Linked DNA regions of Homo sapiens: regions 1, 3 and 4 are each linked to region 2. Evidence: promoter capture Hi-C in human tissues and cell types (Jung and others, 2019). All regions are on one chromosome and are shown on one strand. The core of a region is centred on a gene start or on the middle of the fragment in contact, and the rest is flanking DNA. Distances in the headings are between cores, read along the strand shown.

Region 1 (3,053 bases), core at 75-2,574, 140 kb before region 2:
GCAAGGAAAGTCTTGGCACTGTCAAATCTATTAATGTAGCTTTATAATTATTACTCCAGGGAAAGATAAGAGCTTTTAAAATTTTTTAATGAGAGCTCAGATTTTAGAAATTTCCAGGATTTTGCAAATTCAAATATTAGAATCAATTTTGGAAACATCTACCAGTTATCCTTGCAATTGAGCTAAGACAAATGAAATCTTAATCTTGGAATTTCATTTCTGATGCTCTATTTCCATTTACATAAATTCTTTTCCTTTTTGTATGTCTCAGGAATAACCAAGTTCTTTTGATCTTGTTTCCTTATTTTTGTGTTCTCTAGAGAAACCCAGATATTCTTTTGTTCATATTTGTTGGACCATGACCAACAGTGGTCTGACGTGCCCTGTGCACCTCTAGTGTAATTTTCCATGTAATCCTTGTGATCAATTCTGAATTTGCCTTTCCCAGATATTTTCTGTAATTTTATCAAACTGCCTCCCAATTCTTCATGACATACACAGAGAATTTGACCCAAATCTAACATGCCGAATGGTCTTTAGCCAGCCTCCTCTGGATTGGGATCTCACAACTAAGCAAAACCAGGCCTCAACTCTTCTTGGATGGAAAATCCGAGGGAAAGAGGATGTAAACTGAATGATAGTCTTTCCTGCAATCAGCACAGAGCCAACCACCCCTTATAGTCTGAGGTTTAACTGAAGCGCATCCATTGGAGTAACACGTAAAACTAAGCTGCTGTTAATTTTTCTACTAAAATGCTTCATTTACCTAACATTCTTGAGGAATGAAGAATTCTACTTATCTATTTCACAACTAACTAAAGCTTATTCCCTTAAGTGCTAAAATCTATTTTAAATCAAAATCCTTATAATCCTTATACTTGCTTGCCTTTCTAAATGGTGCAATAAGTGTAATTTCACCTTGTCTTCAGGATTAAAGTTCATAATTATTGTCATTTATATGGAAAATATTAATGGCCTTTTGTGCTGAAAAGGAAAGGTTTGGTGGTGGTGGTGGTGTTGTTTCGAGACAGAGTATCGCTCTGTTGCCCAGGCTGGAAGTGCAGTGGTGCAATCTTGGCTCACTGCAACCACTGCACTCCCAGGCTCAAGGGATTTTCATGCCTCAGCCTCCGGAGTAGCTGGGCAATTTTTGTATTTTTAGCAGAGTCAGGGTTTCGCCGTGTTGCCCGGGCTGGTCTGGAACTCCTGAGCTCAAGTGATCTGCCCACCTCAGCCTCCCAAAGTGCTACAATTACAGGCATGAGCCACCGTGCCTGGCTTGGAAAGGGAAGTTTGCTCACACATGCAACGACTCCATATGAACCTATTTGTTTTTTAAATTACTTGGCACTTCTTTTCTGAAGTCTGAAACTCTCTTCAGGTTATCAGTTACAGTGAGTATTCTATCTTTTCCATTCTAATGGTCTATTGTGAGGTGGATTTTAAAAAAATGACAACAAACCAATACTATTAGGATTGTGCTTCAAGAAAAAGCAACTGTGGGTGTCTGTGGGAATCTCCTAATAACAAGGTATATGACCTTCAGTGCATGGCCATATAAGTCTTTTTTAAAAAATGCTTTCTAATCTGATAGTTGTGTATCCGAGAGTTAACGCTGGGAGTCATTGTTTGAGTCAAGTGTTACCTCACCAGAGCATTTCCTTATTAAAAAAAACGCACAAAAAAAGTATTTAGTTCTCATCACTTCCCAGGCAGTTTTATGACAGGTCCTGCTTTCCTGTTTTTATTAATGGGAACGGACAAGTCAAGTGACTTATTGAAGGCCAGCAACACGAGGGGTAGAACCAGATACAGAAGTTTCATCTTTTAACTTCTCTGATCAATTCAGTAAACTCATCATGATCTATAGGACTTGAACTTAACTGAATTTTTAATTGAGTATTTTTTTTGGTAAATCAAATGTTATAATGATAATATATTTAGTGATGTCTCTAAATGATTTTTTATAAATGGAAGGACTGAGGGAAGCCTTCTAGAAAGAGAAGGCAGAGTTTTTTCAGTTGCCCTAATGGCCTGGATGCCTCAGGATGCCTTCTTCTACCACCTGGGATTTGGCGGTAGAAACCCAGTTTAGAATTTATAAAAAGAAAGTTACTGCCAATCATGTGGCCCCTTGAGAATATGTAACAAAATGAAAGGAGATAGATGGATGTTTCTTGTCTGGTGTCTATAATTCCACCTGATACATAAAAGGCATTAAGTTGATTTACTTGATTTTTAGGAGAGTAAAATCCCGCATAAAAATCAACAGCTCTTTTAGCCTAAATCTTTAGTACACAAAGTTTTTTGTTAGAAGTGAAGCAGTATCTACAATTAACAGATTTATCAGGCTATATATTTTGTTTTAACGCAAGCATGAGCCACATAGGCCTCTGCAGGGTAGTATGCTAAAGGCATTATCAGCTCAGATGTTTCTGCCTTACCCTTGGCCATTCTGATGTGAGAGATTTGGGGCTGTGGGTGGGTGGGAGGACCCCAGGTTACAGGAGTGGGAGGACGGCTGAAAGCAGGGGAACTTCTAAATGCCCTTCCGTGACTCTCCCAGGCTGAGTGGAGTGGCATCTGGATCAGAGGTTCTCATTGTACCCAGCTCCACACTAAACTTTCAGCATTGGACAGAGAGAATTGGTTAACTTCTTGTTGTCCACAAGGCATAAGGTAGTGTCATGTGAACTATTAGTTTCATTCACTGCAATTATTTATTTCTTACATTAAATTTTGCTCAAGTCCCTTACAATTTTCCAAAGATAGACATGTGGATGTGGGCAAGCAGGCAAAAAAGCAAAAAAGCAAACAACAACAACAACAACAACCTCTTGAATTTCATTTTGCTTCTTTTGATTATTCAGAGAAAACTTCAGAAAGTTAATGTAGCACAGATAGAAAAATGTGAAATACAGAGTTGAAAGAAGACAGTGCTTTCATCTGTCAAGCATTAGGGGTTTCCCAGCCTGGAATGTACCTGGCTTTAATAGTTTTTAAGGGATTGGTTTTTATTCTGAACCCAAATCCCACCCCACCTCCCCAAACAC
Region 2 (3,334 bases), core at 657-3,156:
TCTTATGGCCTTACCTTAAGGATGGATCTAAAATCCATCCCTTAGGTGGCTTCAGGTCAATCATCGCTATTCTGCTAGTATTTTATGACTTCTCCATATATGGTAGAAAGAATAATGCCCCCTCCCCCTACAAAGACATCCACATCCTAATCTCTAGAATTTGTGAATATGTTACCTTCCGTGGCAAAGGAGAATTAACTTTGCAGGTGGAATTAAGATTGCTAATCAGCTGATCTTAAAATAGATTATCTAGGGAGGCCAATGTAATCACAGGGATCTCAAAAGCAGAAGACGGGCGGGGGGGGCGGGGCCGGGCGGGGTCAGCCAGGCCAGGTGGCTCACATCTGTCATCTGTAATCCCAGCACTTTGGGAGGCCAACGCAGGAGGATCACTTGAACCCAGGAGTTCAAGACCAGCCTGGGCAACATGGCAAAACCCCATCTCTACAAAAAAAAACAGAAAAAACAATTAGCCCAGAGTGGTGGTGCACACCTGCGGTCCCAGCTATGAAGCAGGAGGATCACTTGAGCCCAGGGGGTTTAGCAGTGAACTGAGATCATGCCACCACACTCCAGCGTGGGTGACAGAGCGAGACCCTGTCTCAAAAAACAACAAAACAAACAAAAAAATCCAAAAAACAAAAAAGTAGAAAACAGAGGCAGAAAAGACAGGCCAGGAAGAGATTCTCCTAGAAGCTACGGAAAAGAACACAACTTCACCAACACCTTGATTTTAGACCAGTGAGATCCCGTCTGACTTCTCACAACCCTAACAACAACACATTTCCTGTGTTTTACGCCACTAAATTTGTAGTAATTTGTTACAACAGAAAATAATAAACTAATATACCAGGCTTCTTCTAGTCCTTGGATTTCAGAAAAATTTTGACATCAGTAATTGCTACTAAAATGACCCTATAACCCAGGACACTGCCAGTCTTGTGAACTGTTTGGTACTACTCCCTAGGAAGAAAAATACAGAAATTGAGAGTTTATTTGTATATAATTCAATTTCATGTCTGCTGAGTTTAATTATTAAAAACTTAGGCTTGTAATTTTATTTCTTCCATTTCATTTATCTATAAATTTATGGTATTTTACAAAAGTACTGGCTGAGACAAACGGAGATTTTACTTTACTTTTTAAAAAAAGAAGACATTTACAAAAGAGAGGTGAAGCGCTGACAAGTTAAATCACTTGCCCAAGTTCAGAAAGTGATTCATCACCCAGTCATTAAATTAACAAATGTTTATGAAGGGCCTTCTACTCCAGACAGCAAGCTCCATGCTAGAGCTACTGTTCAGAACAAGACCCAGCAGAGCCCTGCCTCTCCGTGTGAGTCCCATTCTCCTTAGCGTCCCAGGAATCGCCCTAGATCGCCTCCCCAGCAGCGCTCCCCGCTGGTTACCTTCCCACCAGCATTCAATCCCAGGAAAACAAGCGCAGTGTGGACAGACCCGGCCCAGTACGCAAATGCCACACAAAAGGACAACGAAAGGAAGAAAAACACCAAGCACAGATTCTAGGGGCCGAGGGCTGAGCCACAACGCACCGCAACTCCGGAAAACTGGGCCCCGGACCTCAGCTCCCCTTCCTAAGCCAGGCTCCGCCCCTATTCCCGACCCCGCCCACCGCGTCGTTGGCGTAATTCCCGCGACTCCCTCTCACCCGCCCGGGCTCCACCTTCTGTAGGGGCTCCACCTTCTGTAGAAGCTCCGAGTGCCGCTCCAACGCGCTCGCGAAACCGCCTGCGCGCGTCTTAGGCTCCTTGGCATTGGAACTACCACTTTCGGATCCACTCTCAGTGCCTACACCCCGAAAGGGCCTGAAGAAGAGAAACACTCGCAGAAAATGGCTCTCGGCAGCCACAGCACGGGTCCGACACAGCGCCGCCATGACTTCTTTACCTCTGACCTTTGACCTCCCCTCCGCAAGCGCGCGGGTCACGGGGCGGAGCTATGAGAGGTCCGCCCCCCGGACGCAGAGCTCTGGAGGCCAACGAGGCGTGTCTTCCTTTCATCTGGGAGTGGCGTGGGGAAGAAGAGACTTAAGCTAAAATTGGTGGGCTAAATAGTTGGAAAGGGGCCTGGTTAAGTTTTGCGTTAGAAGTGCGTTTAACTTGCAGGAATTTCGCCTTCCTGGGCATCCGTTGGACCCCATTGTACTGTAAATTCTGCTAACGCGACGCTCGTTCTCCCGCCCTGCCGTCCCCCCTACATGGCCGCCAGCACTCGAGTTTGGGGTCTTCACTCAAATATGAGGGTCTCCTTGATTACCCTATTTAGAAGTGGAAGCCCAAATGCAGACTCTCTGGCACCTGTTTTTCTTAGTACCATGTAGCACTTTCTAATATGCCACATATTAATATTAAATATTTAATAATATTTAGTGTCTACTCCCAACTTTTTAAACTTTGAAAAGAGGAACTTTGCTGTAGGGTCCCTAGCACCAGGCACAGATTAGGGCTCACCCAACATTTGCCAAACCCTGCATCCAAGTTTGTCCTTTGCCACTTCTGCAGCCAGTCCACTCACGCCACAAAAATAGTTTTTCTGAAATGTTTTGACACCTCTAGATACCTATTATCTAACTTAGGAGTTCAGAAGTTTTGGAATGTCCCTAAGTATTGCACCGCCGTAGGCCCCCACCCTCACTCTGGATTTTCTTTCCCTTTTCTCCTGCAGTGTTAATTCCCAAAATTTACCCACCCTGTTCAAAACAGCCTAACATCATTCTTAAGTGTTTATTAATTAGTTGTCCGTCTATCTTTGACCCAGCAGTTTAATATTAATCCACAGTTAGTTTTATTTTGGGGGCACACACCTTTCCAGTTCATTTGCAAGTACTTCGAGAGAAAGAATTTTTATGATCACAGACCCTATTTTAAGAATGCCTTGACTATGGGTTTTAAGCTTTTCTGATGCTCTCTAATGGTACAGATAGTGTTAAGAACACGAAGTACACTGATCTCAGAATGGTGCACAATTGTATGAATCACATAAAATTATTACTAGCTAACTGTATGGTAGTCCTTACAAATTCATTAAATTCTCCAGGTGAGTTCTCCCTCTTGGCAGTTAAAACTGTTTATCTCCCGAGACTATTAATGGACTCTTGCCTAGAACATTATTTTCTACGGATAGTGCTACTTCCACTTTTTTTCAGGAGAAAGTGTGGTAAATTGTAAAGAGCATGGCCAGTGGTCTTCAAGAACCCTCAGTCTGACTGGGCAGGGTGGCTTACACTTGTAATCCCAGCACTTTGTGAGGTTGAGGAGGGAGGATTGCTTGAGATGAGGAGTCCGAGACCAGCTTGGGCCATAGCAAGAACCAGT
Region 3 (3,080 bases), core at 78-2,577, 200 kb before region 2:
GAGGTGTCCTGGGAGGGAACCTCACCCCTCCCTAGAGAAGAGGAAGCTTCCCGCAGCCAACCTCAGAAATAATCGTCTCCCTGAGTCCTGAGAAAACTGCCCCAAATGTTAACACATCAATCTTAAGGAAACGAGCCTGGCTTTTACCGACTTAATTTCATATAATTATTTCAGAGTTTAAGTCTTTACAAGAAAGAGGGAGTGGAGGGAAAGGATCAGAAAATTGAAGGGGATGAACAGAAGAGGAATGAGATTCCTTTGTTTTGAAGATTCCCATTTCTCTCCCAGTGTGCAGGGCATCTTTATCTGTGCTTTCGTCTCTCAGGAGCAAATGCACAGCACACTCAACAGCATGTGGAGAAGCTTGGAAGGCGCTGATTTCGGCTCAAGTCCGTTTTTAAAGGACACTTTAATAAAGCATCCTCTTGTGTCTTGGATCTTAGAACACCAAATGTACAGTGAAATGAGGTCAGAAGACCTGTGTGCCAGTCCTGACTCCTGACCACTAAGTTATGATGTAGTTGGCACAAGTCATTAAGCTTCGGGGACTTTATTACATCTCTAAAATGGAGGTAATGAGACCTCCCCTGCCCCCCTCTGGGGGGTTATATATAGGAAAATAGGAAAACACTTTGAAAAGTTAAAAATGCTGCTATACAGTCAAAAGTTATTATTCTTACAATAATAAAGTTCATTATGAGTATTCTGTAAGTACATTTTTAAATTTAATTTTTTTACATAGAAACAGGTTCTCACTATGTTGCCCAAGCTGGTCTCAACCTCCTGAGCTCAAGCGATCCTCCTGCCTTGGCCTCCCAAATAGCTGGGATTACAGGCATGATCCATGATGCCCAGCCTGTAAGCAGTTTATTATCAGTATTCACATAAGAGCCAGCAGCATAGGATTTGTTAAGTAAGGAAAAAGCTCGGACACCATCTAGTCCAATCAGTTTTAAATGCATCCATTTAAAATGTAAATGACAAAGCCTCATCCTCCAGAAATATTGATTCCATAGGTATAGATTAGCCCAGAAATCTGGATTTTAGATCACCACCTTGGGATATTCAGAGATAGAATCCAACAACCTGACTTTGAGCAACGTTGTTTTGCAAAACGAGGACATTTCTCATTCTCCTACTCCCTGGCCATATCCTTCCTCCCACTGGGGCTGGGTGTGAGAATAGAGCACATTACTTTCACATCTCTTCATTAATATTTCAGAATCTACAATGTGAAGGACTGGGAAGAAACAAAGCAGAATCGGGGATTATGTTGATGGGTTTGGTTTCCCTTTAATGATGAGAAAAAATGCATGTCTGCTCTGAGCAGATGATAAATTGATCCAGAAAATGTTGCACAAGTGTTCTTTGCTAAGCTTCAGGGTCAAAGTCAACAATATAAAAGAAAATATACCTCCGTTTAGTTGAAAAGGACTTACGTTCAAGGCATTGCACAACAGGTCTGGTGTGGGTTACACTCTGTCAAATGGCCCTGTTCATTTATTCAGCTTTCCACAGATCTTTGCCAAAGAGGACAATGAGAGAAAGAGACAGATTTAGCTGTTGTGGTTGCAGTTTGTTTTTGCACCTGGTGGGTTTTTTTTTTAAATGACAATAGTTTGAGAATATCACGACAACATTTTTAAAGATAATGAAATCATTTGTATGTGAAGTTGGGATAATGAAATGACAAGCCTCTCATAAAAGGAATCTCCTTTTAGTAACCATTGCCTATACTTGCATTAAGTGAAAAAAAAAAAAAAAATGAACCGAGGAAGAACTTTCTAGAAAGATAGATAGCTCCTAGAAATCTGGGAGCTTTTCATCATTATTAAACTCATTTGTCTTGCAACTTTCTATTCCTAAAATGAGCAAAAAATTTAACAAAAGCAGTCTCTGGAAAACCAAAACAGAGAACTCATAACATATTCCATTTACTCATAGGAAACTCTCAGGTACCTCCTCAAACCTCTCTACACACAGTTCTAATGCACATCTGCATGCACACACGTGTAAGTGTGTGTCTATATTGGTCTTCTATGCTCACAGTAAACACTGAACATCAGAAAATTAGGGTAGAAGAATTTCTGGAAATAGGTGCATTGATAACCAGAGTGATTGGTCAATGGACTGATGAAAAGCAGGGAGACGAGAGTATATTTAAAAGTTTTCAAAATAACTTCAGAATCTGAAAATTTGGGACCCTTTATGTGCCCTATTGCATTGCAGCAGAGTAACAAAATCTTGTTCACTGTCATGATCCCAAGGCATCAAGAAAAAAATTAAATTTCATCCATTTTCTCTGTTTAAGAAGGTACTAAACAATGTATTTTGGAAAGATTTTCATCAAAAATGTTTAAAATTAAAAAGTCCATGCTGAAAGAGACAAATCCTTATGTTTCCAGAACTCTCATTTACTCAAAAATCTTTTTTCCCAAAGTTTCTGAATAAGCAAAGTTTGTCTAAGGAGCAAAGATTGGGAGAGAGGAGGAGTGGGAGGAGGAACAGCTGTTCTGAATTAAGAAGCATGTTAATGACAGCACAGGAGTCAGAAAGATGCTCGGGTTCGCCTGCTGGTCTAAGAGGCAATGTATTAAACTGTCTAATAAAAACAATTGTTCTAGGCCTGTGATAATGGACATGAGGAGAAAGATTTGGAAGACAGCATTGACGAATGAAGTATCTGTGGCATAAAACCACTCTCTCCTGCGCCCTCAGTCCAAGGCTGTTATCAGAAGTAGGTGACACTGCACAGGCACGGGGTGACGAGGGGCGTGCTGGAAATGGCCCAGTCTAACTCACTCACATTTTGGCTTCACAGGGAGCATTTTCTGAGAGGGTCGATCACCTGAACTGCAAATGGGCCAGGGCAGGAACAAGAGGGGAGAAAAGGGGATGCTTTCAACAGGAAGATTAATGATAAACACGAAATAGCATGATGACTGTGAAGGTTTCAGGCACCGGAGATGCTAAGAAAAAAGAAAACAGAAAGTCTTTTTATCTTTACAGTGGTTCCTATAAAGGGGTCAGCAGGTCGTGGTAGAAACTATCAGTTAATTATCTCTAGGTCAGCAGCATGC
Region 4 (3,210 bases), core at 294-2,793, 160 kb before region 2:
CAATATTCTCTAAAAATCATCATGTATATTTGTACACAAAATACACAAAGCAAATAGATGTGAGGGCCCTTGGAATTTAATATATGGCTGTGTCCTGGTCATTTCTCTGTCACAGAAAAAAAATAAGCCCTTTCAAAGCCCTGGTCTGAAGGAAGAGCTAACATCAAACAACCTCAGAATAACCAGGAGATTAAAGCCTGACGCTATTCAACTTCCTGCCTTGTAACTAACTAATCTCCTTAGAGATGGAAGAAGACGAGGAGCCGCCATTGTATCAGAAAAGCTTTCCGGATCAGAGGCAGCAGCAGCGTGGCGTATTAAAAGGAGCACAGGACCAGGAGTAAGAGGACTTGCACTGCTGCCCCTCCTAGGTCAGCCCCCCAGAATCCTGTGCAGCCCACACGTCCCCTCTCTAGAGGTTAACTCGATGGCCATCCCCCCACACGGCTCCCCTGCTCAGCACACCTGGGAGTAGCCTTTGACACAGTCAGCGCGGAGGAAAGGCTTTCTGGCAGAGGAAGAACTCGGCACCATTTCAAAGGCTCCTTGCAGCCGCCTTCTACCGACCACTCATGAGGCCAAGGGCACCTCTAACATTTGCGTGACTCTCGACTGTTCCCTAGACTCCATCTTTAACCGCTAGTTTCTAAGCAATCCCCGGTCCTGCCAGCTCCCGGGTCTGGCTCTCCTTTTGTTCCATTCCCAGTCTAGCCTTGGCAGTTCCTGGTCCTGGCCTCAGATGTCCGCCATAATTCAGGGGCCTGGCATGGCAACAGTACTTTAACTAGAAACCTAGAAGTATTTTGGAAAATGACTATGAGCAAATATGAGAGGGTAAAGCCACTTCCACAAACCAGTAATGCTGACCCAACTTCCACAAACTAGTAATGCTGACCAACAGACACAGCTTTCTGTTATTTGGTGAAACTTAGGAGAAATTTTGCAGAAAGTTTTAATACCGCTCCTGCCCAGGCCCCCTCCAGAAAAAGTCAGATCTGTTTATCAGTCAGTCTTACATTCATAACCAGCTTATGAAACTGGGGATATTATTAATATTTAAACTAAAAAAGGTAGTATCTGCAAATACTCACCTTGCAGTACCCTCAAATACTCAGTACATCACAAAAAGTAAACTACAATATTATAATGTACTCAAAACCACCCAAAAGGTACTGATCTACACAGTGAAAAAATACTGATGAGTTATAAAAGCAAATATATCATCAAAACCTAGGGACTAATATTCCAAGGTAATGTACCATTGAAACAGAACCATAAGAATAATCATATTCTGCCATATATATATATATATATTCACACACACACTTTTTTTTTTCTTTTTTTGACACAGAGTCTGGCTCTGTCATCGAGGCTGAAGTGCAGTGGCATGATCTTGGCTCACTGCAAGCTATGCCTGCTGGGCTCAAGCCACTCTCCCACCTCAGCCTCCAAGTAGCTGGGACTGCAGACATGGGTCACCACACCCAGCTAATTTTTGGTATTTTTTGTAGAGATGGGGTTTTGGCATGTTGCTCAAGCTGGTTTCAAACTCCTGAGCCCAAGCAATCCACTCGCCTCAGCCTCCCAAAGTGTTGGGATTACAGGCGTGAACCACCGTATCCGGCCCTATATATTTTATAGTTAAAATATCCTAACCACTCTGTCTCCTCTCCATCCCCCAACTGAATTCTATGCAAAGTCATAATCTTTTTTTTTTTTTTTTTTTTTAGACAGGGTCTCTGTCACCCAGGCTGGAGTACAGTGGCACGGTCCCGGCTCACTGCAACTTCTGCCTCCGGGGTTAAAACAATTCTCCTGCCTCATAGCTGGGTTTACAGGCATCTGCCACTATGCCCAGCTAATTTTTTTTTATTTTTAGTAGAGACGGGGTTTCACCATGTTGGCCAGGCTGGTCTTGAACTCCTGACCTCAGGTGATCCAACTGCCTCACCCTCCCAAAGTGCTGGGATTACAGGCGTGAGCCACCGTGCCTGGCCTTCATAATCTTCTTTCTGTTTGTTATTTTTCAAAAAACGGGCAATCACTTGAACAATAATACGAAGATTGCAAATATTCACCAAGCAGAATTTAGCACAAGGAATTTAGCACAATGAATGCCTGTTGAGTGATGAATAGATGAATAAATGAATGAATGAATGAATGAGCAGACAAATGAATAAAAATTCAACTCTTGTGATTGCTGCTGAAAAAATTCAGAACCAGAATCTGATCTATTTTTTTTTAAACATCTGGTAGTTCAGAAGACTTGCCTCAGTGTAAGGTGGCATTTAAATGATAGTCCAGAACTATTTTCAAAGTGAACAGAAACGTATGATTCAGGTTCATTTTAAAAGTCAAACTAGTTTGACCAGGTTGGCTCTTTTCTTCCCGTGCACTTGACTCCTGCGCTCTTGGCGCTGGAAGTGATTAAGAGGTGTGAGCCATCCCACTGGAGCTGCTGTTTGTTCACAGTGATGACCCTGGAGGCCGCCAGGCTGTTTCTCTAGGCAACCAAACTTACAAAGAACTCAAGGAGGCAAACTCTTGATTATACTGTAATGCTTTCAGAAGCAACATAAGGCTTCTCTTGAAAATGTCTTTGTGCTCTATTTTTTTTTTTATTAAAACTTTAAAGTCAGTGGCTCCAAGTAGAAACAATGAAGAGCCTACCTCCCACCTCACTAGAGTCATTTATGGACCCAAGAAAGAAAGGCAGGGGGGCAGCATTCTGAGCATGTATTCATTTTATTAGACACCCTGAACCATGGAAAAGCCAGATCAGTGAGAATGCACATAGTGCTCACCTTTTCCCCAATTCCCCCAGTTCCTCAGTTTGCTGCTTCGTTTATGCCTTCTATGTCATGAACGATTAGGTTTCACTTCTAATACTTTCTTCCCACAGCATCAAACATGTCTTGTTTTGTTTTCACTTTTTTTCCTTCAGATTCAACGGTTTCTGTCAATATACTGATAAAAACAACAGCACAAACACTAGCTGTATAAGTAAATATACAGTTAAGATTTTACCTTAAAGCAATATACCTTCTAAATTGTCCAAGGAGCACCTTTTGGCTTAAAGTAGATTACATTACCACATTGTCCCCATAGCAGAGGGAGGAGTATAAACTCTTAGCCCATTAGAGCTGGTTTGGAATTGCACCTCTAGGACTGACTGACTGTGTGATCTCAGGTGTTATTTAATTACTGTAT

The links. The method cuts DNA at HindIII sites, captures the fragments that hold promoters and counts their contacts. A contact is called where the count stands out against the background at its distance.
Region 1: a fragment that was not itself captured here is called in contact with the fragment with the promoter of MRPS28 in region 2 in 1 of the 25 tissues and cell types used here (H1 embryonic stem cells).
Region 3: a fragment that was not itself captured here is called in contact with the fragment with the promoter of MRPS28 in region 2 in 2 of the 25 tissues and cell types used here (adrenal gland and dorsolateral prefrontal cortex).
Region 4: a fragment that was not itself captured here is called in contact with the fragment with the promoter of MRPS28 in region 2 in 2 of the 25 tissues and cell types used here (adrenal gland and hippocampus).

What each region holds. Positions count from the first base shown.
Region 1 is chr8:79,887,620-79,890,672 of GRCh38, forward strand. No RefSeq gene overlaps it. Among named protein-coding and RNA genes, the nearest start is that of LINC01607, 120 kb to the left of the region's middle. The HindIII fragment of the contact is 7,138 bases long and covers 1-3,053 here.
Region 2 is chr8:80,028,353-80,031,686 of GRCh38, forward strand. MRPS28 (mitochondrial ribosomal protein S28) reads right to left here and starts at 1,907. Exons shown (of 3, transcript NM_014018.3): 1 at 1,684-1,907. The coding sequence starts at 1,896. All of the region lies in intron 5 of TPD52-MRPS28 (TPD52-MRPS28 readthrough), which reads right to left. It also overlaps a transcript of TPD52 not described here. RefSeq lists an enhancer at 1,630-2,059. The HindIII fragment of the contact is 9,025 bases long and covers 1-3,334 here.
Region 3 is chr8:79,829,062-79,832,141 of GRCh38, forward strand. The region is part of intron 2 of LOC101927040 (a long non-coding RNA gene); the gene reads right to left. Among named protein-coding and RNA genes, the nearest start is that of LINC01607, 62 kb to the left of the region's middle. The HindIII fragment of the contact is 3,269 bases long and covers 1-2,962 here.
Region 4 is chr8:79,871,104-79,874,313 of GRCh38, forward strand. LOC101927040 (a long non-coding RNA gene) reads right to left here and starts at 634. Exons shown (of 6, transcript NR_110954.1): 1 at 466-634. The HindIII fragment of the contact is 9,505 bases long and covers 1-3,210 here.